Linked DNA regions of Homo sapiens: region 1 is linked to region 2. Evidence: promoter capture Hi-C in human tissues and cell types (Jung and others, 2019). All regions are on one chromosome and are shown on one strand. The core of a region is centred on a gene start or on the middle of the fragment in contact, and the rest is flanking DNA. Distances in the headings are between cores, read along the strand shown.

Evidence for each region. Contacts are between HindIII fragments. The study calls those that stand out against the background at their distance.
Region 1: a contact is called between a fragment that was not itself captured here and the fragment with the promoter of RPL35 in region 2, in 1 of the 25 tissues and cell types used here (lymphoblastoid cells).

The regions. Positions count from the first base shown.
Region 1 is chr9:125,865,813-125,871,931 of GRCh38, reverse strand. All of the region lies in intron 2 of PBX3 (PBX homeobox 3), which reads right to left. Among named protein-coding and RNA genes, the nearest start is that of PBX3, 120 kb to the right of the region's middle. The HindIII fragment of the contact is 4,796 bases long and covers 1,198-5,993 here.
Region 2 is chr9:124,856,592-124,863,497 of GRCh38, reverse strand. It overlaps RPL35 (ribosomal protein L35), which reads left to right and starts at 1,541. Exons shown (of 4, transcript NM_007209.4): 1 at 1,541-1,588; 2 at 1,943-2,079; 3 at 3,234-3,315; 4 at 5,431-5,615. The coding sequence starts at 1,586. The coding sequence ends at 5,580. ARPC5L (actin related protein 2/3 complex subunit 5 like) reads right to left here and starts at 1,368. Exons shown (of 6, transcript NM_030978.3): 1 at 1,100-1,368. WDR38 (WD repeat domain 38) reads right to left here. Exons shown (of 9, transcript NM_001045476.3): 6 at 6,898-6,906; 7 at 6,617-6,766; 8 at 6,087-6,134; 9 at 5,620-5,996. The coding sequence ends at 5,868. RefSeq lists enhancers at 1,122-1,341, 1,782-1,891, 1,932-1,981, 1,417-2,040, 3,029-3,528 and 1 more and silencers at 1,362-1,631, 4,671-4,953. The HindIII fragment of the contact is 10,105 bases long and covers 1-1,830 here.

The sequences.
Region 1 (6,119 bases), core at 2,346-4,845, 1.0 Mb before region 2:
ATCCATGTAACCACTACCTAGGTCTAGAAATACAACTTTGTCACCTTCCTAGAAGCACCTTTGTGCCCTATCTCAATATCAATTCTATTTTTGCCTCTAGAGCTCTGTCCCATAGAAATGTAATGAGAACCCCATATGTAATTTTAAATTCTCTAGCAGTCACATTTTAAAGCTTTTTTAAAGTAAAACTAATTGTAATATATTTAATTAACCCAATATATTGGAAATATTATCATTGTAACCTATAATCAATACAAAGATTTATCAGTAAGATATTTCAGTCCTTTTAATAACATTACCATCTATGCAGCCCTAACACTATAGCTTCATTCTTACTTTGTTTGAATTTTATATAAATGGAATTATATAATGTTTTCTGTTATACCTTGCTCTTTCATTCAACATTCTACATGTGCTATTATGTTCTTGAATGTGGAAGAGTTCATTCCTACTCATTGCTGTGTCATATTCCATTGTTGACCTATTCATTATTGTTGTCCATTTTATTATTCATGAACACCTGGGTTTTTTTAGATTTTTTTTTTTTTTTTGAGACGGAGTCTTGCACTGTCACCCAGACTGGAGTGCAGTGGCGCAATTTCAGCTCCACCTCCCGGGTTCAAGTGATTCTTCTGCCTCAGCCTATAGCTGGGACTACAAGCACCCACCACCACACCTGGCTAATTTTTGTATTTTTAGTAGAGATGGGGTTTCACTATGTTGGCCAGGCTGGTCTCAAACTCCTGACCTCATGATCTGCCCACCTCGGCCTCCCAAAGTGCTGGGATTACAGGCGTGAGCCACTGCATCCGGCCTATTTTTTCTAGTTTTTAGCCATTGTTTACAATAATGATTTAAACAACTTTTTACACGTCTCTGGTATACATGTGAGTTTTTCAAGACTTTATATCTAGAAGTGGAATTGCTAGATTGGTAGGGTATGTACGTATACATGCCTTCAATTTTGCTAGGTAATGTTCCAAGCTGAAATTATTCAATTTATATACCCACCAGTGAACAAAAGTTTCTGTTGCTCCACACCCTCAGCAAAACTTGGTATTATAAGACTTTGTAATTTTTGACAATTTGGTATATAAACAATGTCTCCCTGTGGTTTTACTTGTATTTCCTGATAATCAAAATTTTATTCTTGTCCAGACAATAAATGAACCTTAAAATGATTTAACTCTGACCACCACTCTCTTAACTTACATCCAAGATTTAAGTTATCTTGTTCTTTAATCTCTACAAATTAGATATTATTTTACATGGTGATAGGGTTTGGCTGTGTCCCCACCCAAACCTCATCTTGAATTGTAGCTCCCACAATTTGTGGGACAGACCCAGTGGGATGTAACTGAATCACGGGAGTGGGTGTTTCCTGAGCTGCTCTCATGATAGTAAATAAGTCTCATGAGATGTGATGGGGTTTTTTTGTTTGTTTGTTTGTTTGTTTGACAGTGTCTAGCTCTGTCAGATCACCCAGCCTGATATGATGGTTTTATAAGGGGGTGTTTCCTTCCACAAATTCTCTCGTCTGCCACCATGTAAGATGAGTCTTTCAGCTGGGCGTGGTGGCTCACACCTGTAATCCCAGCACTTTGGGAGGCCAAGGCGGGTGGATCACTTGAGGTCAGGAGTTTGAGACCAGCCTGGCCAACATGGTGAAACCCCATCTCTACTAAAAACACAAAAATTAGCCAGGCATGATGGCGCACACCTGCAATCCCAGCTACTTGGAAGGCTGAGGCAGGAGAATCCCTTGAACCCATGAGACAGAGGTTGCAGGGAGCTGAGATCGTGCTACTGTCTCAGTGAGCTGAGATAGTGCTACTGTCTCAGTGAGCTGAGATAGTGCAGCCTGGGCAACAGACTGAGACCGTCTCAGAAAAAAAAAAAAAAAAAGATGTGCCTTTCGCCATGATTGTGAAGCCTCTCCAGACACGTGGAACTGTGAGTCCACTGAACCTCTTTTTCTTTATAAATTACTCAGTCTCAGGTATGTCTTTATCAGCAGCGTGAAAAGGGACTAATACACATGGTTTACCCTTATCCACAAATTTTACCAAAAATTTTTACATGGTCAATACTCATCCACAAATTTCCTATTTTCCTTTCTCATTATTGTTGCTACTCAGACATTCCTTCTGAGGGTTTTTGTTTTTTTCTTAAAATATATCCTTTAGAAATTATTTTAGTGGAATTCTATTGGTAGTGAAAGCTTTCAATTATGAGTCTGAAGATACCTTTATTTTGCCCATGCTCCAGGTATTTTCCATGGAAAGACAATTCTAGGTTGATAATTCTAGCTAATTTCTCTTAGCACTTTGAAATTATTTCATTGATTCTAGCTCATATTGCTCCTGCTGAGAAGTTAGCTGTCTGTTTATTCATTGTTGCTCTTTTCTCTGATTTAGAGAATGTTTTTTCTTTAATCTTTTGGGTTCTGCAGTTTCATTATAATACTCCTTGGTGATGTTATCTTCCCATTCATCCCAGTTAGAATTCACCGAGCTACCTATTTGAATACCAGTATATTTCATCAATTCTGACATATTCTCAGCTAAATATCTACTTGAATATTGCTTCTTCTCCAATTTTTTAATTCTTTATTTCTGGAACCATAAATTAAATGTTTGTTGGGCTTTCTTACTCTATCCTCTTAACATCTTTTTCATATTTCTATCTCTTTGTTGTACTGTATGCTAGGTAATTTCTTCATATCCATTGTCCGCTAATTCTCATCTTAAGCCATTTCTAAGAATTTTCTTTGCTTTTTACATCTGTCTTATTACTTTTAATGGTGTCCTGTTTGGTTCAACATACTTTCAATCTTGAATTTTTAAAAAATATGCTTACCTTATTTGCTGTACCTGATGATACAAATATCTTCAGACTTTCTCAGCCTGATCCTGCAGTTTGATGTTGCTGCTATCTCATAGTCATGGTGGCTTTTTTAACTCAGGCATTTTCTTTTTTTCTGCTTCTTCATTGTTTAATTGTGAGCCTGTGGCCCTCAAAAATTCATCTGTGTGAATTTTTAGACACCTGTGTTTTAAGTGCTTTCCTCCAGAAAAGACAGGCATTTTACAGATGCCTAGGAGTACTAACAATTCACTTCAAACTGAATTTTCATCATGAACCTTCTTGGGCCATAAGGAAAATACGATTTCCATTACCAAATCAACTGAATGTAGGGTATCGCTAAGGTCTGTCTCACCTGGGGCCATGGGCAAGTTCACTCTGTGAGAGTACTCTCCTTTTAGAGGTTCTGGCTTTATGTGAAGAGCTCTGATTTTGTTTCTTAAGCTGCACATATGCCTTCAAAACCTACATTCTAGGTCAGCACTGACAGACACCCCCTACTCCACGCCCCTGGAATAAATGCCAGCTCTCATATCTGTGGAATCACTCTCTGTCCTTTCTTCTGGCCCACATTATGTCTTACTTCACTACGCTGGCTCAGCCATGCTTTGGAAATGAAGTTCTTTACTGTACAGCCAGCATGTTTAAGTGTTCTATGCCAGGTGAGGTTTTTCTGCACATTCAATCTACCCATATGGCTAGAAACTGAACTACAATCTATTTTCAAATGTAAATAAAATCAATGTAACATCTCTGGTTTTCGTTTTCTTTATAAAATGGGTATAACAGTACCTACTCATAGGGTTCTTATGAAAACTACATGAATAAATTCATACAAAGTGCTTGGCACAGTGCCTAGAACACAGGAAGCATGTAAAAAAAAAAAACTGCAGTCTGGGTGTAGTGGCTCAGACCTGTAATCCCAGCACTTTGGAAGGCCGAGTTGACCAGATCACTTGAGTTAAGGAGTTTGAGACCAGCCTGGACAACATTGTGAGACCCTGTCTCTACAAAAAATATGAAAATTACCAGGCGTGGAGGCATACACCTGTGGTCCCAGCTACTGGGAAGGCTGAGGTGGGAGGCTAGCTTGAGACCAGGAGGTCAGGGTTGCAGTGAATCATGACTGTGTCACTGCACTCCAGCCTGGGAAACAAAACAAGACCTTGTCTCAAAACAAAAAAACAAAACAAAAGCAAAACAAAACAAATATATGTATGTGTGTGTGTGTATATATATATGTATGTGTATATATATATGTGTATATATATGTGTGTGTATATGTGTGTATATATGTGTGTGTATATATATATAGAGAGAGAGAGAGACAGAAAGACAATCATCATTGTCATAATTGATTTGGGTGCAATATTATAATCTACTAAATTTTGTTTTGTTTGTTTTTGTGGTTTTTTTTTTTTTTTTTGAGATGGAGTCTTGCTCTTGTTGCCCAGATTGGAGTGCAGTGGTGCCATCTCGGCTCACTGCAACCTCCACCTCCCGCATTCAAGTGATTCTCCTGCCTCAGCCTCCTGAGTAGCTGGCATTACAGGTGCGCACCTCCATGCCCAGCTAATTTTTGTATTTTTAGTACAGATGGGGTTTCACTATGTTGGCCAGGCTGGTCTCGAACTCCTGACCTCATGATCCACCCGCCTTGGCCTCCCAAAGTGCTGGGATTACAGGTGTGGGCCACCACACCCAACAATTTTGTTTTTTAGAGTCATGGTTTTACACTTGAATAGTTATTCCTCCAGCAACATTTAAAAATTCAAACATCTAAAAATGTATTACCCATGGCTTCTATTCTTTTATTCAAATAATTGATTTTTTTTTTTTAATACTTCAGGGAGGACCGGGGACACATCTATGGTGAATGGTCCTAACGACATCAATGTAGGGTGAAATGCATCATTTGTGTGCTTGTTAAACTACACTTCTCAAGCTTCCTTTGAAATCCCTTCATGGTATTATTTTTGTCAAATGATCACTGAGGGATATGATAAGAAGATCCCTACTAACAGATGTCACAAGACCCTAGATTTGCCATTACAATTGCTTTGTAATTACACATATGTAGTACAACTTATGTTTACCTAACACAACCATGAAAATCACGTCTTTATGGATGACTTAGGGGTGAAAAAAGCAAGTAAGACAAAAAATTTAGTTGCCTAATCAAAGAGTAATCAAATTCAGTATTGAGGTACCATGGAAATCACCAAAGTATAGCTTTGGATACTGTCAAGAAGGAATATTAACACTTTCAAGAAAAATCATTGTTGACATTTTTGAAATTTTTTAAGCAGAAATATTATGCTATTTTAAAACAAAGTTACAAATAACATCTGCCATTTTAGAACAAAGGATAGCCCTGTTAGCTAGAAACGAGATATAGAAGCTGAAAAACCATGAATCTGTAAACCTCCCCGGACACATACAGAGGCCTCTGGTCCTTTCTCATTCCTCTAATAAAATAGCCATGATGATTGTTTCTTTGTTTCCCTCTTACAATCTAGGCAGAGAGATGTCTTTGTTCATCTTTTTTAACCTGTTCTATAATGTTACCTCTCTTTCCACTAGAATGTAAACCCCACAAGGGCAGCAGATAGTTAAGTGCAAAGAATGAGATTAACACACAATAAGCACCAGTAAATAATTAATGATTTCACTTCTAGTTAGAATAATGCCATATTTTAAACTAACCCCCCATAAAAGTATAAAATAACTATACAGATATTTAATTGTGATTCAAGCAAATACACAGTATGTGACAAAACTGACAAAAAAGGCAACATGGAATATTATGCAGCCAAGTAAAGATGATGACATAGAATGACTTGCTAACATGGAAAGATATCCACAATATACTATTCAGTGAAAGATGCCAGCTACACAACAGCATAGTTAACTCACTTTTGAAAATTAATATATATGTGTTTAGCACTATTTAGAAGAGTGGTAATCTCTGAGCAATGGGATTTATGTGACCGTTGCTTTTTTCAAACACTTTTCAATGTTTTTTAAATATTTTAACAGCTAGCAAAGACTCTTTTATAATCCAAAAAAAAAAAAAGCTATTTTCTTTTGTGGGGGGAAAAAAATTGGGGGAAAAACAGGGAAGGCACGCAAGCAGGTAAGCTACATATAACACACTTTGTCCTGACACATTACCCAGCCTAACTTAATTACATGATTCTCAGAGGTCTTCTCACATCAACCACTTATGAAAACAGGCTATAGGCTAATGACAA
Region 2 (6,906 bases), core at 292-2,791:
CAGAGCAAGAATTTGAAACCTGGTCAGGTTCACTTTAAAAAAGGCTGTACTAGCCGGGCGCAGTGGCTCACACCTGTAATCCCAGTATTTTGGGAGGCTGAGGCGGGTGGATCACTTGAGGTCAGGGGTTTGAGACCAGCCTGGCTAAACCTTGTCTCTACTAAAAATACAAAAATTTAGCTGGGTGTAGTGGCACACACCTGTAGTCCCAGTTACTGGGGAGGCCAAGGCAGGAGAATCTCTTGAACCCGGGAGGTGGAGGTTGCAGTGAGCCGAGATCGCGCCACTGCACTCCAGCCTAGGCGACAGAGCCAGACTCCATCTCAAAAAATATATAAAAAATAAAATAAAAATAAAAAAGGCTGTATGGCCAGGCGAGGTGGCTAACCCCTGTAATCCTAGGCACTCTGGGAGGCCGAGGAGGGCGGATTGCTTGAGCCCAGGAGACCACCCTGGGCAACAGCTCTACAAAAAATAAACAAATTAGCCAGGCCTGGTGGCTTGTGCCTGTAGTTTCAGCTACTCGGGAGACTGAGGTGGGAGGGCTGCTTGAACCCGGGAAGCGGAGGTTTTGGTGGGCGGAGAGCGCGCCATGCCTTCCAGCCAGGGTGACAGAGCGAGACCCTGTCTGAAAAAAAAAATTAAAAAATAAAAAAAATAAATAAAGGCTGGGGCCAGGCGTGGTGGCTCACGCCTGTAATCCCAGCACTTTGGGAGGCCGAGGCGAGGGGATCACCTGAGCTGAGGAGTTCAAGATCAGCCTGGGCAACATGGCGAAACCCCGTCTCTACTAAAAATACAAAAAATTAGCCAGGCGTGGTGGTGCATGCCTGTAATCCCAGCTACTCAGCTACTCGGGAGGCTGGGGCAGGAGAATCGCTGAACCCGGGAGGCGGAGGTTGCAGTAAGCCGAGATCGCGACACTGCACTCCAGCCTGGCACCCTGGGCGACAGAATGAAGCTCTGTCTCAAAAAAAAAAAAAAAAAAAAAGGTGTAAATGCTCTTTGCAGTTCCATATACTGCCTCCCCAGAACCTTTATGGAGTTGGATTATAACTGCCTGAGCCCGCCCCTCCCGTCCATCTCGCGCTTTAAATTCCTCCGCGACGTGAGCCTCGGTTAATCGTCTTTGAAAACTCTGGCCCCTCCTCCCGTCAGCACCCCCAGACTACTGGCGCCCAGCTCAGAGTTGCCCAGATTGGGAGATCTGCAAGGTTTCCCGAAGGAATGAATGAACGAATGACTGAATGGACGAATTTGAGTCCTCCGTGTGCCATCTCTGGTAGCTGCCGCCCACGTTGGGCCTCGGTTTCCCCAACTGCGCGCCTACACCGTGACGCCGACCTCGCTATCAGGGGTGCCGTGAATGAGGCGAGCACTACAAGGCGGGGCTCCGGCCCTACCAGGCGGGGCGGGCAGTACCACGGCGTTCCTCGGGGGCGGGGGAGATGAGGCGGAGCCGGGGCTCCCCCGCTGCGGCGCCATTGGCCGCGCCCGCCGCCACCCGGCAGTAGTTGCGGAGGTCAGCCCCGCCTACTTCCTCTTTCCCTCGGAGCGGGCGGCGGCGTTGGCGGCTTGTGCAGCAATGGTGAGAGCTGCGGAATCGGGCGCCATCCGAGCGCTGTGAGGCGCGGGGGTTGGGGAAGGCGGTGCGGGCTGAGCCCGCGGATTCTATCTGCCACCTAGGCCTGTGGGGCGCCGCGCAGAATGGTCTGGCGCCACCACAACCCGCCTCTTCGCTTGGCGCCGGGAGAGGCGCGCGGCCCGGGCCTGGGTTACTCTGCCCAAGGCACGGCCGGCGAGGGAGACTGTCCTGAGCCCTGGTTGGGGCTCCGGCGCACTCGTAGTCGATGGCGAGTCGCGCGCCTTTGGGGGCTGGCCACGCAGGTGAAGGGGATATGGCCCCGCGGCCTGGCTGAGGCACACTCTCTCTTGCGCGCAGGCCAAGATCAAGGCTCGAGATCTTCGCGGGAAGAAGAAGGAGGAGCTGCTGAAACAGCTGGACGACCTGAAGGTGGAGCTGTCCCAGCTGCGCGTCGCCAAAGTGACAGGCGGTGCGGCCTCCAAGCTCTCTAAGATGTAAGTGAGGCGGCCGGATCACAGCCCTCGTGGGTGGGGAGCACGTGTGCATCGGGATCGTCGGAGGATTTCAAAGTTGGCTTAAGGAGCTGGCCGCTTAGATGCCCACTCCGTGCATCCTGGCGCGCATGGGAGACCCGTTGTGTGCTTAGCCTCTTACCTGCCTTGACCTTGCGGTCCTTGTGCCTGGAATGCATCCCCGGAGACCCATCTTAATGCTGCCTTCAAAGCCTACCCGGACCCCTTCCTTCCGCTTCCCACCAACACTTGAGTTTTTAACCCCCTTGGCAGGTGGGTGGCTTGCACCCTGGAGTGGCAGCGTAAGTTATTTTACATGGCTAAGAGTGCGGGAGACTTGTGAAAGGAACATGGGTTTGGAGTTCATCAACCTGGGTACAAAGTCCACTTCTCAAAAAAAAATTAGATGGGTGTGGTGGTACAGGCCTGTAGTCCCAGCTACTCTGGAGGCTGAGGCAGGAGGATCACTTGAGCCCAGGAGTTGGGAGGCTATGATGGGGCCACTGCTCTTCAGTCTGGTTGACAGGTGAGACCCTGTCTCCAAAAAAAAAAAATGGTGGTTGCCCTCTTTGCCCCCAAACAACCTTAGTAGAGGCAGGGGTGGGAGGATTGGACAAGCACAGTTGCACACTGAATCCTCAAAAACCATGTTGACCAGCTGTCTACTAGGTGACTCCCTCATCCTGACATGACTACAAATAACTTCTCCCTGGCTCGTTGTTTGCTTCAGTCTCCTGGCTTGTAGTGACTCCACTTTGCAAATGTCTTGTTTCTCTCTCCTGCAGTTCCCTAAGCTAGCCTGATTGCCTGGTTTGTGGCATGATTCCTTCCCATCAGCTCATTGAAATTGGCATTGGTTGGGTCTTAGCCCTCAGGATAAATTCGTGTTCTGGGATTGAAGGTCTTTTTCTGATCTGCCTCATTTATCCAGCCTGCACTTCCTCATAAAGCCTCTGCTGTCTCTCCCATGCCCCTCTCTTCCCTCCTCAGACCTCACTCCCAGAACGCCTTCCTCCTGAGTGAATATGGATGGGTTGATGGGGGAGGCTGCAGCTATTGCTGCCCTATGTGTGAGTCCTGAGTCTTGGGTAGTGCTATGTGTCTTCCCTATCTTCACTGACATCTCTGTTTTGTAGCCGAGTCGTCCGGAAATCCATTGCCCGTGTTCTCACAGTTATTAACCAGACTCAGAAAGAAAACCTCAGGAAATTCTACAAGGTGAGTCTGCCTGGACATAGGGAGGGTTGGCTGCAGGAAGCCAAGTGCTAGCCGTCCCTGGCCGGGGACATGGTAAAGAGGTTTTTCTTGGTGCGTGGGCTGAGAGTGGTTAGCCTTCCCAATTTGTTGCTGGGCTCACTCTTCTACCAGTGTCTTGCACTGGCACGTGGCTCTGCAGACCACTTCCTCAGGCTGCAGATGTCAAGAATTCATTGGGGCTTGGGGTGTCCTGGCTGGAGACTCAGTTTTTGAAACCAGCCTTCCCAGTTGAGTGGCTTGGGCAGTGATAGGACTGGCTGTTGAAGGTTTTCACTGCCTCTTACTGGCACTGGGTGTCAGTCCCTGCCAGGCACCTGCCATGCTCATTTTTCAGATGAGGGCCCTGAGGCCTAGACACCCACAGTCAATGGCATGATGGGCCCTGGTTCCAAACCTTACCTTGGGGAGGGTCGGCTTTAGTGTTCTGGGAGGTGTGCACAGGTGTCTGGCCCCCTCTTAGTCTTGAATTTTGATAACCATTTTCTGGTCTTGTCCTTAACATTCATCTTATTGGGGTTCAAGCAGAGAAAACTAGGGGGAGACGGTGTGTGCACATGCATCCAATGTATTCTGAAGAATGGGCATAGGTGATTGTGGGGGCTGGCTGGGACTCAGGGCTCAGGTTGAAGCTGCTGTTCCCAGTGGGTACTTGGAGGGAGCCTCAGCCCTGTGCTTAAGACTTACAGCTGATTGGATCGGGCCTTCTGGGATTACCCAGGATAATCTCCCCTAAAGTTACCTGATGAGGGTCTTTAATTTCATCTGCAAAATGGTTCCACATCACTACCCAAATTGTGTTTGAATAACTTGAAGATTTGACACAAGGGAAAAGCAGCCATGGCTGATGAAGTGCCACAGGCCTATAACCCCAGCTACTGGGAGGCCGAGGCAGGAGGATGGCTTGAGCCCAGGAGTTAAAGTGTAGCCTGGGCAACATAGTGAGGCCTCATCTCAAAAAAATGAGAAGGGCCATAGTGTGGCTATGTTAGCTGTTCAGGGGACACTAGCACGTGTGTGGCAAAAGTAAACCTTTAATGTCAGCAGCTACGTGTGTGGCTAGTGGCTGCTCTGTTGGACAGCAGAACTCTAGGGGGTTAGCCAATGTGAAAAGGACGAATGCCCAGCCGATGCCAGCAGGAGTGAGGGATGTGGGAGGACAAAGACTTTCCTGCTTCCAAGTACCCTCCAGGGCTGGCCCTCATTGTCCAGGATCTTTCTGCAGTCCTCTGCCCACCTGCAGGGGCCTGGGGCCCTGTGACCTCAGAATCCCCCATACCATGGGCCACTTGTTACCTGTTCAGTCTTCCCCCACTAGGCTGGGACCCCTGAGCAGGGACTGGGTCAGATCCTTTGCCAAGCCAGCTCCCAGCACAGGGCCCAGTCCTGAAGGGGGCCCAGGGGACCTTTGCAGAACACAGGAGAGACCAGTGAGAGCTGCCATGGTCTAGAACCCCCTGCTGGAGAACAAGTGGGGCAGGAGTGGGAGCCAAGGATGGAAAGACAGATGATGGCTCTGTGACAGCTGTGGGCAGGGGCCCCAAAGCCGGAAGCAGGTGGGGCAAGTGGCCTTGGCCAGCCAGGCCTCTGAGGCTGGACGTTCATACAGGCAGCAGCTGGTGGGCCCTGCATACAGATGGACAGAGTACTGCCTCAGCCCCCAGCATGCTCTTGCTAACCAGAGCCGAGGTAATGGTAACTACCCCCGGGGCTTGGTGGGTGCTGCGTGCCCTGTACTAGGTTGTCATGTGACTGTCCTCGTGACTGGGAATCGGGCAGTGGAAGGAGCACTGAGTTGGGAGTCACTTGACTGAGATGCAAGCCCCGGCTCTTCCACAGCTTTGCCAAGACTTGGACACTCAGCCCAGTAGGTCAGCAGACTTACATGAAATGAGGATGGTCCCACCAGCCTTAGATTTGGGGGGATTAATTGAGTTAGTGACATGTGTGGCCTGCTGGCAGTCCCATGGTGGCAGCCTCCTCCTGAGTGGCTCTGGATGGCCCTCCCCAGCCCCCTTAGCTGCTGCAGTAGCTCCTCAGCCCTGGGTCCTTGGATTCACCCTGCCGTCTGTCTCCCAGGGCAAGAAGTACAAGCCCCTGGACCTGCGGCCTAAGAAGACACGTGCCATGCGCCGCCGGCTCAACAAGCACGAGGAGAACCTGAAGACCAAGAAGCAGCAGCGGAAGGAGCGGCTGTACCCGCTGCGGAAGTACGCGGTCAAGGCCTGAGGGGCGCATTGTCAATAAAGCACAGCTGGCTGAGACTGCTTTGTTTCCTGGCACTTCCACTGATTGGGTGGAGGTGGGTGGGTCTGGTTTTGGGGACCAGGTGTCTGATGGGTTCCAGCAAGCGTCCTGCCCACCACAGTTGTCTGCTCTGGTGGGGCCTGGAGAGTCCTGGCCATGGGGATCTGCTGGATGCCAGCACAGTCACTTTGCGTCTGTGGGGAGAAGCGGCATGCCTGTGCGCCACTGAGGGGAGCGGGTGAGGTCGGCACCATCTAAGGTGGTTGGTGTTAGGTTTGAGGGTCCCTGGGTGATTTGGACGTGCGGGATATTTGACGTCTAGTCTGATCGGCAGCTCCAGACACTAAGATTTTCCCATCTGGGGTGAAGGCACAGGTGTGGGCCACATCCAGGACTCCCTGCTAAGAGTAGAAGGTGGGGCTCGAGGCAAGTCCTGCCTTGGGAGAAGCTGTCCACAGCTTCCTCAGTGCCACAGCGCCGTGCCTTACCTTCAGGGTCTCAAGGCACTTTCCTGTGTTGCAGTCCCAGACTTTGACCTGGAAAAGGAGGGGGGCATGTCAGGAAGCCTCACCAGGCCACTGTGGCATCTGAAGCCACCTCCAGGAAAGTCCCAGACAAAATATGAGATGAGTCTTCGCCTGAACTCCTGACCTCAGGTGATTCACCTACCTCCACCTCCCAAAGTGCTGGGATTACAGGTGTGAGCCACCGCCCCCGGCCCAAAAAACATCTGAACCTCTTGGTGTAGGTTTTGTTTGGAGGCTGTATTTGAAATTTCAGAGCAGGAGTTCCCTTTTGCCTGATGCCATTTGGGTCATGGAAATGTCAATGCAACTACCAATGGGCCAGCCCTAACCTTGGTGCTGGCCATTAGGAAGAGAGGCTGGCACCCAGGTCCTGCCCTTGCCCCCTCCTAGCTAGGGCAAGTGGGGATGTGGGCATTTCTGGAGTGAGTGCTGAGGGCTCCTGGTGGGGTGAGGATGGGTAGGTAGGAGCAGGATGGGCCCGGGGTGGTTACCATGCGGGAATAGCCGGCGCTGGCCAGCCACAGCTCGTCGGGAGAGAAGGCTATGCTCTTCACCCAGGTGACATGGCCCTTCAGTTGGATAAGCAGGCTGCTGGTTGTGGGCTTCCAGATGTGGATGGTCTTGTCCCAGGAGCCGGATGCCTGGACAGCAGACAGCTCTGATCCCCAGGGTTTGGGGCCTGTGAGCTCACTGGGCCCCTAAGTGGCCTGGGACCCTTAAGGGCCTGGCTGCCAGCAAGGGACCAGCCTGGAACCCAGGACACCCCACTTACCAGGAGGCC